Linked DNA regions of Homo sapiens: region 2 is linked to region 1. The links are contacts of gene promoters, found by promoter capture Hi-C in blood cells and fetal thymus (Javierre and others, 2016). All regions are on one chromosome and are shown on one strand. Each heading gives the region's core, a stretch centred on a gene start or on the middle of the fragment in contact. The rest is flanking DNA. Distances are from core to core; before and after follow the strand shown.

Region 1 (6,647 bases), core at 3,698-6,197:
ATTTATCATATAAGGTAGTAAAATGGTTAATATTCTTAATCTATAAAAGAGCATCCTATTCACTCAACACATATTTACTGAGTGCTCACTAGACAGTTAACAGTGCTAAGCACTGAGAATGCAAAAAGTGATGTAAGAAAAGCATGATTTCTGCTTGCACGTGGTTTACTGTCTAGTGGACAGAGAAAGACTAACGAGAGAATTCCTGTTATGAAAGGCAGTTGTGCACAGCTTCTCACCCCCTGCATCGTTACATAAGAGCAGCCTTGGGCCTGGAACATTTTCTTGCACAGAGATAAAGAGTCATCATAGCCTGTGCTAGGCACATCTCTGCTTTGTAATAACTTTCCCCGTTCCGGGTTTCACGTGTACTTCTTTGTTCTTAAGCGCATGGGTCAATGGCCATCAAGTGCACCTCCAGCTTTCTATAGTTCTGGCCCCAGGGGGATGGGTTGAGGATCTTCACCTGCAGCAACAGAGCAGTGTATGCATTCCATCTCCCTGCATCAGCTAGAGGTCAAGACCCACTGCCATGGGGGCACACAGTCATCACTGAAGCTAATCCTGTTCCATCTCTTCTCTATATGAGTAAAGTGTTTTCCATCCAGTGCCTGTGTGAATCATCTTTCTTGGTGACATGGACATCTCCAAACCATACAGTAAGTTAACATCCTGGGACTGCTGCTTTGGTGATAAGCAACAGGGGTCATTTGCTCAACAACGACTGTAATGAAACTCTAGCTGAAAGAAAGGAATGCCTGCTTTAAAAGCACATAATTTAGGGACTTGACCCAGTTTGGATGTATGATCCAGATTAGGGGATGCCGGGGAAGTATCAGTGAAATGACTGAAGTGAGAAAAAAAGTATAAACAAGTGCTAATTAGTAAAATAATGTACAAAGGTCCTATGGCAGGAGTAAACATGATATATTTGAAAAACTGAAAGAAGGCTGGTTTGTCTTCAGAGCATGAAGTAAGAAGTAGTATGGGTTAATAGAGACTGGAAAGAGAGATAGAGAATATACCTTGCAGGGCCTTCCAGGTCACATTGAGAATCTGATTGTGAATCCACTAAGAAATGGACAGCATAGAAGAGTGTTTTACAGAGAGTTTTGACACAGAGAGATCTGGGTTTTGAAGAGATGGGGCCTGTTGGCTTGGGAAAATGGATCAGAGAGGAAGAAAATGGACACAGAGAGATGTGTGAGACCGTTGCCAAGATCCAGAAAAGTGTGCATGGTAGCTTAGACCAGTGGTTCTCACCAGGGAAATTTTACTCCTCTGAGGACACTTGGCAATGTCTTGAGACATTCTTGGTTGTCACACCATGTGTGGGAGGATGTTACTGGCAACTAGTAGGGAAAGGTCAAGGATGCTACTAAACATCCTACAATATACAGGGCAGTTCCCTCAACAATCATCTGACCTGAAATATCAATAGTGCTCCAACTGAGAAATCCTGGCTCAGACCAAGATGGTGGCTGAGAGAGAAGGAAGTACATATTGCAGAGACGATTAAGAGGCTAAAATCAGCAGTAATTAGTGACTGATTGATCGTGTATAATGGGGGAAAGACTATCAAAGGCAACCCTCAGGTTTCTGGCTTGCTCACCTGGATGAGTGGGGAGTGCCGAGATGAGAAATGCTTGAGGAGTTGATGGTTTGGTAGGGGAAGATAAGGAGCTCTGCTTGAAACCCTGTAAATGTGAGGTGCCTATATGACACTTGAAAGATGAAAAACACAATTCTCTAGGTCTACAGATCAAGAGGGGAAGCCTGAACCCTGTATTTGAGAGCTTCTGTGAATAAAACAGAAGACGTAGGCATGGATGAGATTACCTAGGAAAAGAATACAGAATGAGAAGAAAATAATCCTGGAGACTGAGTCTTGAGAAACTCCCAGGAAAGGAGCAGGAACCAGCAAAATTGTCTAGAGAAGTGGGAGGACATGGCACGCATCAGATGCTTCAAGAGGGCCTGTTTCCTGGCACCTTCTCCAACACAAGCACCACTGATTATTATTGCTATTTTTTTTTGAGACAGGGTCTTGCTCTATAGTCCAGGCTAGAGTGCAGTGGCATGATCTCAGCATCTCAGCTCACTGCAGCCTCCACCTCCCAGATTCAAGTAATTCTCGTGCCTCAGCCTCCTGAGTAGCTGGGACAGGCATGCACCACCACACCTGGCTAATTTTTGTATTTTTTGGTAGAGACGGGGTTTCACCATTTTGGCCAGGCTGGCCTTGAACTCATGACCTCAGGTGATCAGCTGACCTCGGCCTCCCAGAGTGCTAGGATTACATGCGTGAGCCCCTGTGCCTGGCCTAGATCTTTTTAAACTTTGCTAAGCTAATCAAGTCTAATCAGTTTTTTTTTAATCTTGTTTAAATATACCAAAGTTTTAGTTGACAATTTTTGGTAAATAATGAGATTAAGCATCTCTGCCATGTTAGTCAGCCATTCATATTTCTTTTGTAAATTGGCCAATGCATGTGACTTGCCCATTTTCTATTTCAGATATTCATATTTTTCTATAGACTTTAGTATATCTTACGGTTTTAAACTCTTTACTGTCACATTCTTAGGTATTTCCTGAGAATTTATCTTTTTTTTGGTGGGGGGGGGTTGCAGTGGGTGGTGTCTTTCTATTCAGTCATTTTTCATTTTCATGGATTCAAATTTGTTGACTTTATTTCTCTTCCTGCTTTGACTGCATAGTAGAAGAGACTGTTCTTTCCCAAGGATGATAAAAATGTTCTTCTACATTTTTTAGTATGTCAAATTATTTTATACATTTAAATTTTTAAACCACCTAAAATCTATTTTTGTGGGTGATGAGTAATTAGAATCCTTTTCCAAATGAGCCAGTTGTTTCAATACCAGTTATTGAATAATATGTTATTTCAACCTGTTCTTTATCTTATAATCCTATATCCAATAGTCTGTTGTGGCCTATCTTTTTTGTTCTTTAGATCTCTCAGTATATTCCTGTGCCCAAGCCAGGCTGTTTTTATTACTGTGGCTTTACAATATGTTTTGATAGCTGGTGGGCAAATCTGTATTATTTTATAATCAGGAAAACTCACAAAGGAGTGTGTGTGTGTGTCTGTGTGTGTGTGTGTTCTTGCATGTGGAAGGTGGATGAGGAAATGCCTTTGAATGACTAGGTCTACTTTGGAAGCTGCAAAGGAGTTTGACACAGTGCCTGGAGCAGAGTTTCCAGAAAAGCTTGGAAAAATAAAAGGAGAATTGGAGACTACAGGGCTCTCAAAGGAGGCTGATGCTCACACTTACAAGGTCTGTAGGTTGATGCAAGCAGAGAGGAAAGCTGGCATGGACTGATCTCTGTTATTTTTATACACTAGCACTAACTGCCTTTCAAGGCCCATTAGGCCTGGAAACCTTTTCCCAGCCCCTGGGAAGTCACTGGGGATGCTAAGGTTAGTCATTCACCCACTGGGGCTATCTAACTGAGCTCAGGTCCGGGTGCACTGCCAGCAGCTGTTTGTGTACTTACAGCCCCCTGGGTGCAGACGGACCCCCAGCTGCCAGCCATATGCCTTATGTTTCATTGTCCCACAGCTTTCAAAGAAAACAAGTCTTTTAATTCAGCAAGTATTCACTGAATGTCTGACACCCCCAGTGCAGACCCTGTCCCAATCCCCCAATGGGGTCCACCTCTATCCAACTCTGGGTGAATGACCATGGTGCTCTTGCGCGCGGGCACACACACACACACACACACACACACACACACACACACACAGGCACACACACATAACTCAGGCTTGGGGCCCACCTCTCTGGGCTCAGAGGTATCAAAGCAGGGGCATTCCTATCTTAAGGACTTCTTGTCTTAGGGGCTTTGGCCCCACCTGCACAGGACAGAAAATTAGTGGATTTCTAGGAGAAAGCAGGCTATGGCAGGGTATAGCCAGGGACTCAGCTCTTCCTTCCAGACATGCAGGAACCATAAGGAGGGATGGTCAAACAGGGCCTGCTTAGGCCTCTTGCTGGGATCACTCCAAGGGTCTCTGGGGTCACTCAGAGGAGCCGGGAGGCTGCCTGCTGCTGTACACTGAGACAGACTCCTGGGGTGTTTGGATCACGGCAGCCCACATGCTGCCTTTTTGTTATCTTTTCTGTTTTGCCTCTTCCGGGCTGTACTTGTCTTGAGTTTTTGGCCTTATGACATCCATATTAAATGGGGTAGGGCAGAGCATTGCTCAGTAAACAGCAAGAATGGCCCTGGGCATGGCCAAGGCAGTTCTGCTAAGTGTGAAAGGGAATGTGCCTGCCATACTTTGTGCTTTAGGCCCAAGTGACCTAGGGGCCAGCCTGCCTACTGGCCTCACTCCCAACATTACAGGTGTTTGACTCTACTCCACCCCGTGGAGAGACGGAGCACAGGAGCCACCCACCGGGGGACCACATAAGGTCATGCACACCCACAGAGTGCCCAGTCCCTGCCTGGCCTTGTCCCCATTTTCCCTCCACCTAGGGTTGGGGTGACAATGGAGGTAACTAGAAGACAGATCAAAAGGTTCTTGGTCTTGACACAGATGCAAGAAGGAGGCAGATAATAGACACCTCCCTTCCCCCTCGCCCACATAGGCTCCGGTGGGTTCTCAGGGCAAGGCCTGGCTCCCTCCTCTCCGACTTCAGGTACAGGTGAGTGTGGAGGGAACTGAAAGAGGAAAGGTGAAGTGCTGTTTGGCTTCGACCTGGAGGGGGACAGAAGGCTCTCTGGGCAGGCAGGGCCGGTCTTTTGGCAAGAGGCGCGCTCTCTCTCCCTTCCCCTTCCATCGAGGGCTGGGTGTGAAGGTGAGAGCAATCAGAAAAGAAGGTGAAGAGGTACTTGGCCTTGACACGGACGGGGGGGGCGGTCCCAGGCCGAGGCCGCCCCGCCCCCGCCCCGCTATACCCGGCGCCGCCTCCCGGCGTCTGAGCTGACACCTCCTTAGCGCTGGCCGCGGGCCGCCTCTGCGGCAGCGCTAGTCGCCTTCTCCGAATCGGCTCCGCACAGGTAAGATCAGGGGACCCGGCGCCTGAGCTGCCGAGGAAGGAGTCGGGGGTGCTGCGTGAGACTGAGAGTTGGGAGGCAAAGAAACAAAATCGGATTTCCTCAGAGGGCCAGAGGAAGAGACTGAAACACGGTAGCCCCAAATCCTTGGGCGGCTGGGAGGTGGTCCCTGTCATGCCCACGACGGGTGGGCGCGTCTTTACCGACAGCCTGCATGGATCCGCAGATGTGCTGGGCGCTTAGATGCCTGCGGCTATGCAGAGACGCAGTCCAGAGAGGTGACCCCAGATCCTGGTGGGGGCTGGATCCCAGGGCCCCGACATCCCTTTGCAATTTCCAGCCAGCAGCTAAAGACTCCCTTCCCGGGGCTTTAGAGAGGCTCCAGGCTCGCGATCCATGAACACACAAAAACCTTCCTTGCTCATGTTCTGAAAAAAAGCCCCGCCTCAGCTTTGTGAATGTTAATAATAGGGGGAAGATTTGTTCTCTCTTGGGTGTGTGTACAGGTGGAACAATCTGCAGAAAAAGACCTTTTTTCGGAAAACCTTTTCAGTTTGAAGTTTCAGCAAATCCATTTTTCATTTCCTTTCATTTGGGGAGATGACATGAAATTTAAGCTCCAGCTTTGGGGCTGTCTCTGAAGTTCTGGGGTTCGGCTTACCTTTCCCGGGATGAGGTTTTGATTTGGAGGAAGTAAAATGGGTTTTGTCTTAACCTGGGCTCGTTCTTTAAACTTGTGAGGCCGGGGCGGTGGACTTACTGACATCCTGTATTCTCTCACCTGCAGCTAGGAGAAAAGATGTTCACTGTGCTGACCCGCCAACCATGTGAGCAAGCAGGTTAGTATCTCTCAGCAGGTAGCAAGCGTGGTTTTGCCAAATCGCAAGAGAACCCCAGCTTCGGCCTACAGTTTTTCATCCATATCCCCTGCAAATGATTGTTTAACTTTATTGGTTTGAGACTCAGTACTCAGCTGGGTTTCAACACCGGCATTCCTCAAATAAAAGTAATGCTTTTCATCAAAGCCACACAAAACAAGGACTAACATGCATGTTTCACTTAAATGGTTTTTCCGGTTTGTATAATCCATTAATTTGGCCCTTGTGGTTTCCCTTAGCTAGCTGTGTGTAACGTTTGCTTTAGAATACTGTATTGTTGATTTTGTGATCAATTGTACAGTACTTGGATCTTTCCTGTATTCCCATCCAAATGTTGCTGGCACAGTGCCTACAACACCCCCACCCCTCACTGTGAGTCAGTGTTGTTATGGTTGATACTGCAGGCACAAGTGCAGGATTTTCTCACACTGGAAGGCACACACACACAGACACACACACACACACACACACACACACACACACACACACTTCTAAGCTTGCCCCGCCTGCCTCTAGAGCACTTTTTGGAGTTGCTCATGTGGAAGCCCAGAAGGCTCTGGCTTCTCCAAGCTCAGGTAGGTACCTTGCAATTACCATGTTTGTCCAGCCCTAATGACAGCACAGCTCTAGGCTGCATTTCCTAAATGAGTAAGACCTGGTCTCATCCATTTTGCTTTGTAATAAGCTTTTCTGCAAGGACAAGAGTTTGCTTAAGGTAATCATAGCTTTTTACTTGAAAACTGCTGA
Region 2 (6,689 bases), core at 489-2,988, 1.5 Mb after region 1:
GCCACTACTGCACTCCCGCCTGGGTGACAGAGTAAGACTCCGTCTCAAAAAAAAAAAAGCACTTCTATATACCTTATACATCATATTAAAAAATGAAAACTTTGGCCAGGTAAAGTGACTCACATCTGTAATCCCCAGCACTTTAGGAGGATGAGATGGAAGGATCACTAAGGCCAGGAGTTCAAGACCAGCCTGGCTAATAAAGTGAGACCCTGTCTCCACAAAAAGAAAAAAAAAAATGTTTTTAATTTAGCCAGGCATGGTAACATGCACCTGTAGTCCCATTCCAGCCTCGGGGACACAGTGAGACCCTATTTTTTTTAGAGTGAGTCTCTAAAAATAATAATAAAATAAATAAATAAGGAAAAGAAACAAAAGAAAGAATAAAAGGGAAAGGTAAAGAAAGCATCCATAAATCATAATCATGTAACACAGATCTAAACTTATGAGACATTCTCTGTCTTTAATGATTGCAGACTAAACACTTGACACTCACTTTTCTGATCCCTCTAGAGTCTCTAAAATACAAGTTCTTTTTATTAAATGATAACTGATAACTAGAAACAAAAAGGAAGGCTAAAAGTGGACTAGAAAGTTTGAGAAAATCTCAGATGACATGCATAGATAGAATTAAGACTGACAGAGAACCAACAAGGGAATCCTCTATCTAAGAATCACAGGTAGACAGACGTTCCCAAGGAAGCCTCAAGGACTTGGAACAAACTAAGACAGAAAGCAAGAATGAGCCACAGGACAATCATCAGATTACAACTGCACAAGGAACAATTGTGTCCTTGTACAAGGAACAGTTTAGTCAGTCAGGTCCTGCCTCTTTTCCATCACCCTTCCTTGGTACACAGAATAAACCCTGCAGCCCTGGCCTCCGGGGTAAACGTGGAAAATTGTTCCTACAGTGAGCAATCCACCTTGGGGTGGGACATAGGTGTGGATGTGGGAAGCAGAGACTGTGGTCCTCCAGATACTGAAACAGGGAAGGGGTAAATGAGGAAAGCCAACTCCACTCCAAAGAAAAACCCACCCTGGCAATTGCAGAGGCCTCCAGCCTGCCTACCTGATCTTCAGCCAGCTGGAATTCCAAATTAAAGTCAACCAGTCAGCAGGCCCCACCTACCCACATACCAACCCTTTATTTAAAGGAGAGGCTATTGGAGAAAGAGACTTAGGCAAGCATAAAGGAAACTCACATTGCCAACTTCTATACCAATCAATTTAATCATTTATTCATAATATAAACTAAGAACCAGAGATCACCAGGCATTTGAGAAATAAACAGCATTAAAAAGCAGGACCATGATGAAAAAGTGACCTACAAGTTCAAGAGGTAAGAATACAATGTTTATAATCCTAATTTTGTTCCCTTTTTTTCAAAGTCCAGGTTCCAGGCTTATATTATATAATCCTAATGTTTAACCTTTAATATTAATAACAATATTTAATTCTAAATTCTGCCCCAAGAAGAGAATTTTTATAATCCTAATATTTATCTCAAATTCAGAAGTATATGATACACCAAATATATGCAGCTAGGAAAAGGGACCAATCAGACAAAAAGAAAATGAACAAAACCTTTCAAATATGATTGTTGAAATTAAAAAATTAACTGGAAATCCTAAATAATAAAATGAGTGGGGATAAATACCAAGCTTGAGAGCTCAAAGATAAAGTCAAGGAAGAGCAATAAAAGAAGAGAATTTGCATGGACACAAAGAGGGAACAACAGACACCGGGGCCTATTTCAGGGTGGAGGGTGGGAGGAGGGAGAGGATCAGAAACAATAACAATTGGTACTTACTAAGCTTAGTACCTGGGTGACCAAATAATCTGTACAAGAAACCCCCATGAGTTTACCTATATAACAAATCTGTATTATGTACCCCTGAACCTAAAACAAAAGTATAAGAAAGAGAGTTTGGCAGTTCTTCAAAAGGTTGAACACAGAGTTATCATTTTATCCAGCAATCTCACTACTGTAAGAGAAATAAAAACGTATGTTCACACAAAACCTTGTAGACAAATGTTCAGCGCACCATTATTCATAATAGCCAAATGTGGAAACAACCCCAAATGTCCATCAAGACCACATAAGCAAAATGTGGTATAGCCACACAAGGATTATTCAGCTATAAAAAGAATGAAGTATTCACACATTCCACAATACAGATGAACCTTGAAAACATTATGCTAAATGACAGAAGCTAGACACAAAAGGCCACATACTGTATGATTCCATTTATATGAAATATCAAAAATAGGCAAATCAGCCAACAGGAAGTAGATGAGTGGTTGCCAGGGGTTGGAGAAGAATGGGTACTGGGTTTCGCTGGGTGAGAAAAATGTTCTGAAATTAGATAATGGCAATGGTTGAACAACTTTCAATATACTAACACCTACTGAACTGTACACATTAAAATGGTGAATTTTATGGTATGTGAATTATACCTCAATAAACAAGAGAAAGTGAGAAAGCAAAAGAAAATTTAAAAGAAAAGTCAAGAGAGACAAACTCCCACACCCATCCTGTAGGGGTTTCAGGAACAGAAAAAGGATGAAATAGGAAGAAATCTAAGAAATAATATAAAAGCTAAAGGAGGGATGAAGAGGCTAGGCATCGTGGCTCACACCTGTAATCCCGGCACTTTGGGAGGCCAAGGCAGGTGGATCACTTGAGGTCAGGAGTTTGAGACCAGCCTGGCCAACATGGTGAAAACCCATCTCTACTAAAAATACAAAAATTAGCTGGGCATGGTGGTGCACACCTGTAATCCCAGCTACTCGGGAGGCTGAGGCAGGAGAATCCTTGAACCCGGGAGGTGGAGGTTGCAGTGAGCCAAGATCGCGCCACTGCACTCCAGCCTGGGCGACAGAGCAAGACTCTGTCTCAAAATAAACAGAAAGAAAAGAAGGGAAGGAAGGGACAGGAGGGACGGGAGGGAAGGAAGGGACAGGAGGGACGGGAGGGACGGGAGGGACGGGAGGGACAGGAGGGACAGGAGGGACGGGATGGGGGAAGGAAGGGATGGGAGGGGGGAAGGAAGGGACGGAAGGGGGGAAGGAAGGGATGCGGGGAAGAAAGGGACAGAAGGGGGAAGGAAGGGACGGGAGGGGGAAAGAAGGGACGGGAGGGGGAAAGAAGGGACGGGAGCGGGGAAAGAAGGGACGGGAGGGGGAAAGAAGGGACGGGAGGGGGAAAGAAGGGACGGGAGGGGGAAAGAAGGGACGGGAGGGGGAAAGAAGGGACGGGAGGGGGAAAGAAGGGACGGGAGGGGGGAAGGAAGGGACGGGAGGGGGAAAGAAGGGACGGGAGGGGGGAAGGAAGGGACGGGAGCGGGGAAGGAAGGGACGGGAGCGGGGAAGGAAGGGACGGGAGGGGGAAGGAAGGGACAGGAGGGGGAAAGAAGGGATGGGAGCGGGGAAAGAAGGGACGGGAGGGGGAAGGAAGGGACGGGAGCGGGGAAGGAAGGGACGGGAGCGGGGAAGGAAGGGACGGGAGCGGGGAAGGAAGGGACGGGAGCGGGGAAGGAAGGGACGGGACAAGACGGGACTGGAGGGAGGGAGGGAGGGAGGGAGGCAGGCAGGCAGGCAGGAAGGAGCAAATTAGTAAAAAGAGATTCCTAGAGACAATCTAGTAAAATTTACAGGCCTGAAATGAAAAGAAAAGCTAACTCAAACAAGTCACACAGAAGAGGGAAAAAAAAAAAAAAGGTAAGGTTTACCCACAAGTCCTACAGAACTACAGTTAGTACAAGGAAGAGAGCTCAAACTCCAAAGCATGGCACAGAGGTAAGCCACTGAGAGGCCTTCTTGAAAACAAACAAAAAATACTAACAGCCAGGCGCGGTGGCTCATGCCTATAATCCCAGCACTTTGGGAGGCCAGAGCAGGTGGATCACCTGAGATCAGGAGTTGGAGACCATCTGGCCAACACGGTAAAACCTCATCTCTACAAAAATACAAAAATTAGCCGGGCATGATGGCAGGTGCCTATAATCCCAGCTACTCGGGAGGCTGAAGCAGAAGAATCACTTGAACCCGGGAGGCAGAGGTTGCAGTGAGCTGAGATTGTGCCACTGCACTCCAGCCTGAGTGACTGAGCGAGACTCCGTCTCAAACAAACAAAAAAAAACCTACCAAATGATAAAATCTAATCAACCAAGAGAAGAACTACAGCAAAGAAACAGGAAAACTATGTTTTTAATTAAAAAATTTATGATGGATGAGCATTTACTTTACCTTATTCAAGTATAAAACTCTTATTTGAAAAATAGAAAAATTCCTCCTAAATTCATATCTCAAAAAGGCACTTGCCACAGTAAAAAGCAACCTATGTAATGAGAGAAGATATTTGCAATCATTTATCTGACAAGGGGTTAATATCTAGAATATATAAAAAATACCTACAACTCAACAACATAAAACTCAGTTCAAAAATTGGCAAATGACTTGACTAGATCTTTCTCCAAAGAAGATATACAAATAGCCAACAATCACACGAAAAGATGTTCAACATCACTAGTCACAAAATACAAATCAAAACTGTAAGATACTACTTCACACCCATCAGGATAGCTGTTAGCAAAAAACAAAAACAGAAAACACTAATGTTCACAGCAGCATTGTTCACAATAGCCAAAAGATATAAACAAGCCAGTGCCCAACAACAGATGAAAAGATAAACAAAATGTAGTATATGCATACAACGGAATATTATTCAGCCTTAAAAAGGAATGAAATGCTGACACATGTTAGTTATAACATGGATGAACCTTGCAAATGAAACCAGCCCAATTGTCCTATAGAACTGATGTTTACAGTCTTTTAAAATAAACGTAGAAATTGACCCTCCCAGTCTTAAAACTTGAGGAAGTTACATTTGTCTTATCTGAGTTCCTTTCTTGGGAAACCAACCATCAGGCCTCCCAGATAGTTATCAAGGAACTGAAACTTACCAAATCACCATATCTGGACCATAAGACACCAGACCCCCTCACCCATTACAATTGCCTAACCAACTACCTGCTTCCTGTTGACCAATTCCTCTTCCTCACCCTTCCTTGATTCCTGTTTTCCCATACATGGTTATATTTCTTCCCTGCTAAATACATCCCTGGTTTTAGTCAGTTGAGGAGACAAATTTGAGACTGATCTCCCATCTCCTTAGCTGCAGCACCCAATTGAAGCCTTCTTCCCTAGCAACACTCATTGTCTCCGTGATTGGCTTTCTGTGCTGTGAGCAACAGGACTTAAACCAAACCCCTTGATATTTCAGTAGCAATATGAGGTACTCACCATAAGCAAATTCACAAAGATAGAATAAGTAGAGTATAGGTTACCAGGACTGGGGAAGGAAAGGGGAAGTTACTGTTTAATGGGTAAAGAGCTTCTGTTTAAGATGATGAAAAAGTTTTGGAAATGAATAGTGGTGATGGTTATACAACAATGAGAATGAACTAAATGCCATTATATACATAAAAATGGCTAAAATGGAATATTTTAAATTATGCATAATTTACAATTAACAAATTTTTTAAATTACAGTATTACACTATTACTATATGTGAATTATACCTCAAAGTTGACTGGCAAGGATAAAAGGATATACAATTTGATAAATACTCAATGTTGGAAGTTCTAACAAAAGGCATTTTAAACACATTGACTGGGATTATATATTGATACAATTTTTTTAAGAGTATTTCAGCAATTTTTCAGAAGTCACAAAAATATTTACTGCCTTCTATCCATCTGTTCTAATTCTACAAATCTTCCCTAAAGAGAAAAAGAAAAAGCAGGCACAAAGATTTATTCTCAAAAATGTTCATCAAAATATTATTTACAACATTATAATACTATCCAAAAATAGTAAATAAAATGATCAGATATTCACAACATATAAAAAGTTTATCTTAAGTATTATGTATTTTATTTTTAAATGTTAATAATAACATTTACAATACGTAATATATATGTTACAGGGGAAAACAAACATAAAATTATATCATGTGATTCTAATTTTTTATATACAAAACAAAACTAAAGAATAAATATATCTACGTCAATAATAATTATCTCCCAGACTAAGTTAAGGACCCTTTATCATATGCTGTCAAGGTAATATAACCTGAGGTCAGAGAAAACGTCGCTGGAAGTGGCTTTGAATGGAGAAAGAATAAAAGAGGATTCCTACCAGAGAACTTGTCTACCTCAGTATCACTTTATTCAAATTAAAACTGTTTTACAATCAAACTTCAATTTTTAAAAGTGGGGGAAAAAAACAGTATGTGTGAATTTTGGTATCCAAGGGGATACTAAAACCAATCTCCGGGCTGATACAGAAGGATGACTGTACTTGGAAATGATCTGGAATGTCTGTTTTAAAATGTCAGCAGGGGGCACCCCATTCAAGGATATAACACATTTTAAATAAAGGTGTTTAAATAAGTATTTCATTGATTCATTTTTAATGAGCATACCATGAGCCTTCTCAAAGTATTAAATACTCAACCATTACCTAAAAATCCTACTTTTTATTACCAGATTTTACTTTGGGAGAGTAACATTAGAAGATGTATAGTAAGAACTACCCTTATTATTAAGCATTTTCTAAACTTCTATTGGTTCACCCATATTTCACCAACATAGAAGAATAATTATTATCATACCAGTGCCAC

What was found. Contacts are between HindIII fragments. The CHiCAGO score rates a contact against its expected background, and 5 or more counts as called.
Region 2: a contact is called between a fragment that was not itself captured here and the fragment with the promoter of ENTPD3 in region 1, in 2 of 17 cell types (naive CD4 T cells and total CD8 T cells). The highest score is 5.8, in naive CD4 T cells.

Annotation. Positions count from the first base shown.
Region 1 is chr3:40,382,237-40,388,883 of GRCh38, forward strand. ENTPD3 (ectonucleoside triphosphate diphosphohydrolase 3) reads left to right here and starts at 4,948. Exons shown (of 11, transcript NM_001248.4): 1 at 4,948-5,025; 2 at 5,810-5,861. The coding sequence starts at 5,822. RefSeq lists a silencer at 4,869-4,968. The HindIII fragment of the contact is 3,169 bases long and covers 3,226-6,394 here.
Region 2 is chr3:41,887,778-41,894,466 of GRCh38, forward strand. All of the region lies in intron 16 of ULK4 (unc-51 like kinase 4), which reads right to left. Among named protein-coding and RNA genes, the nearest start is that of ULK4, 71 kb to the right of the region's middle. The HindIII fragment of the contact is 153 bases long and covers 1,663-1,815 here.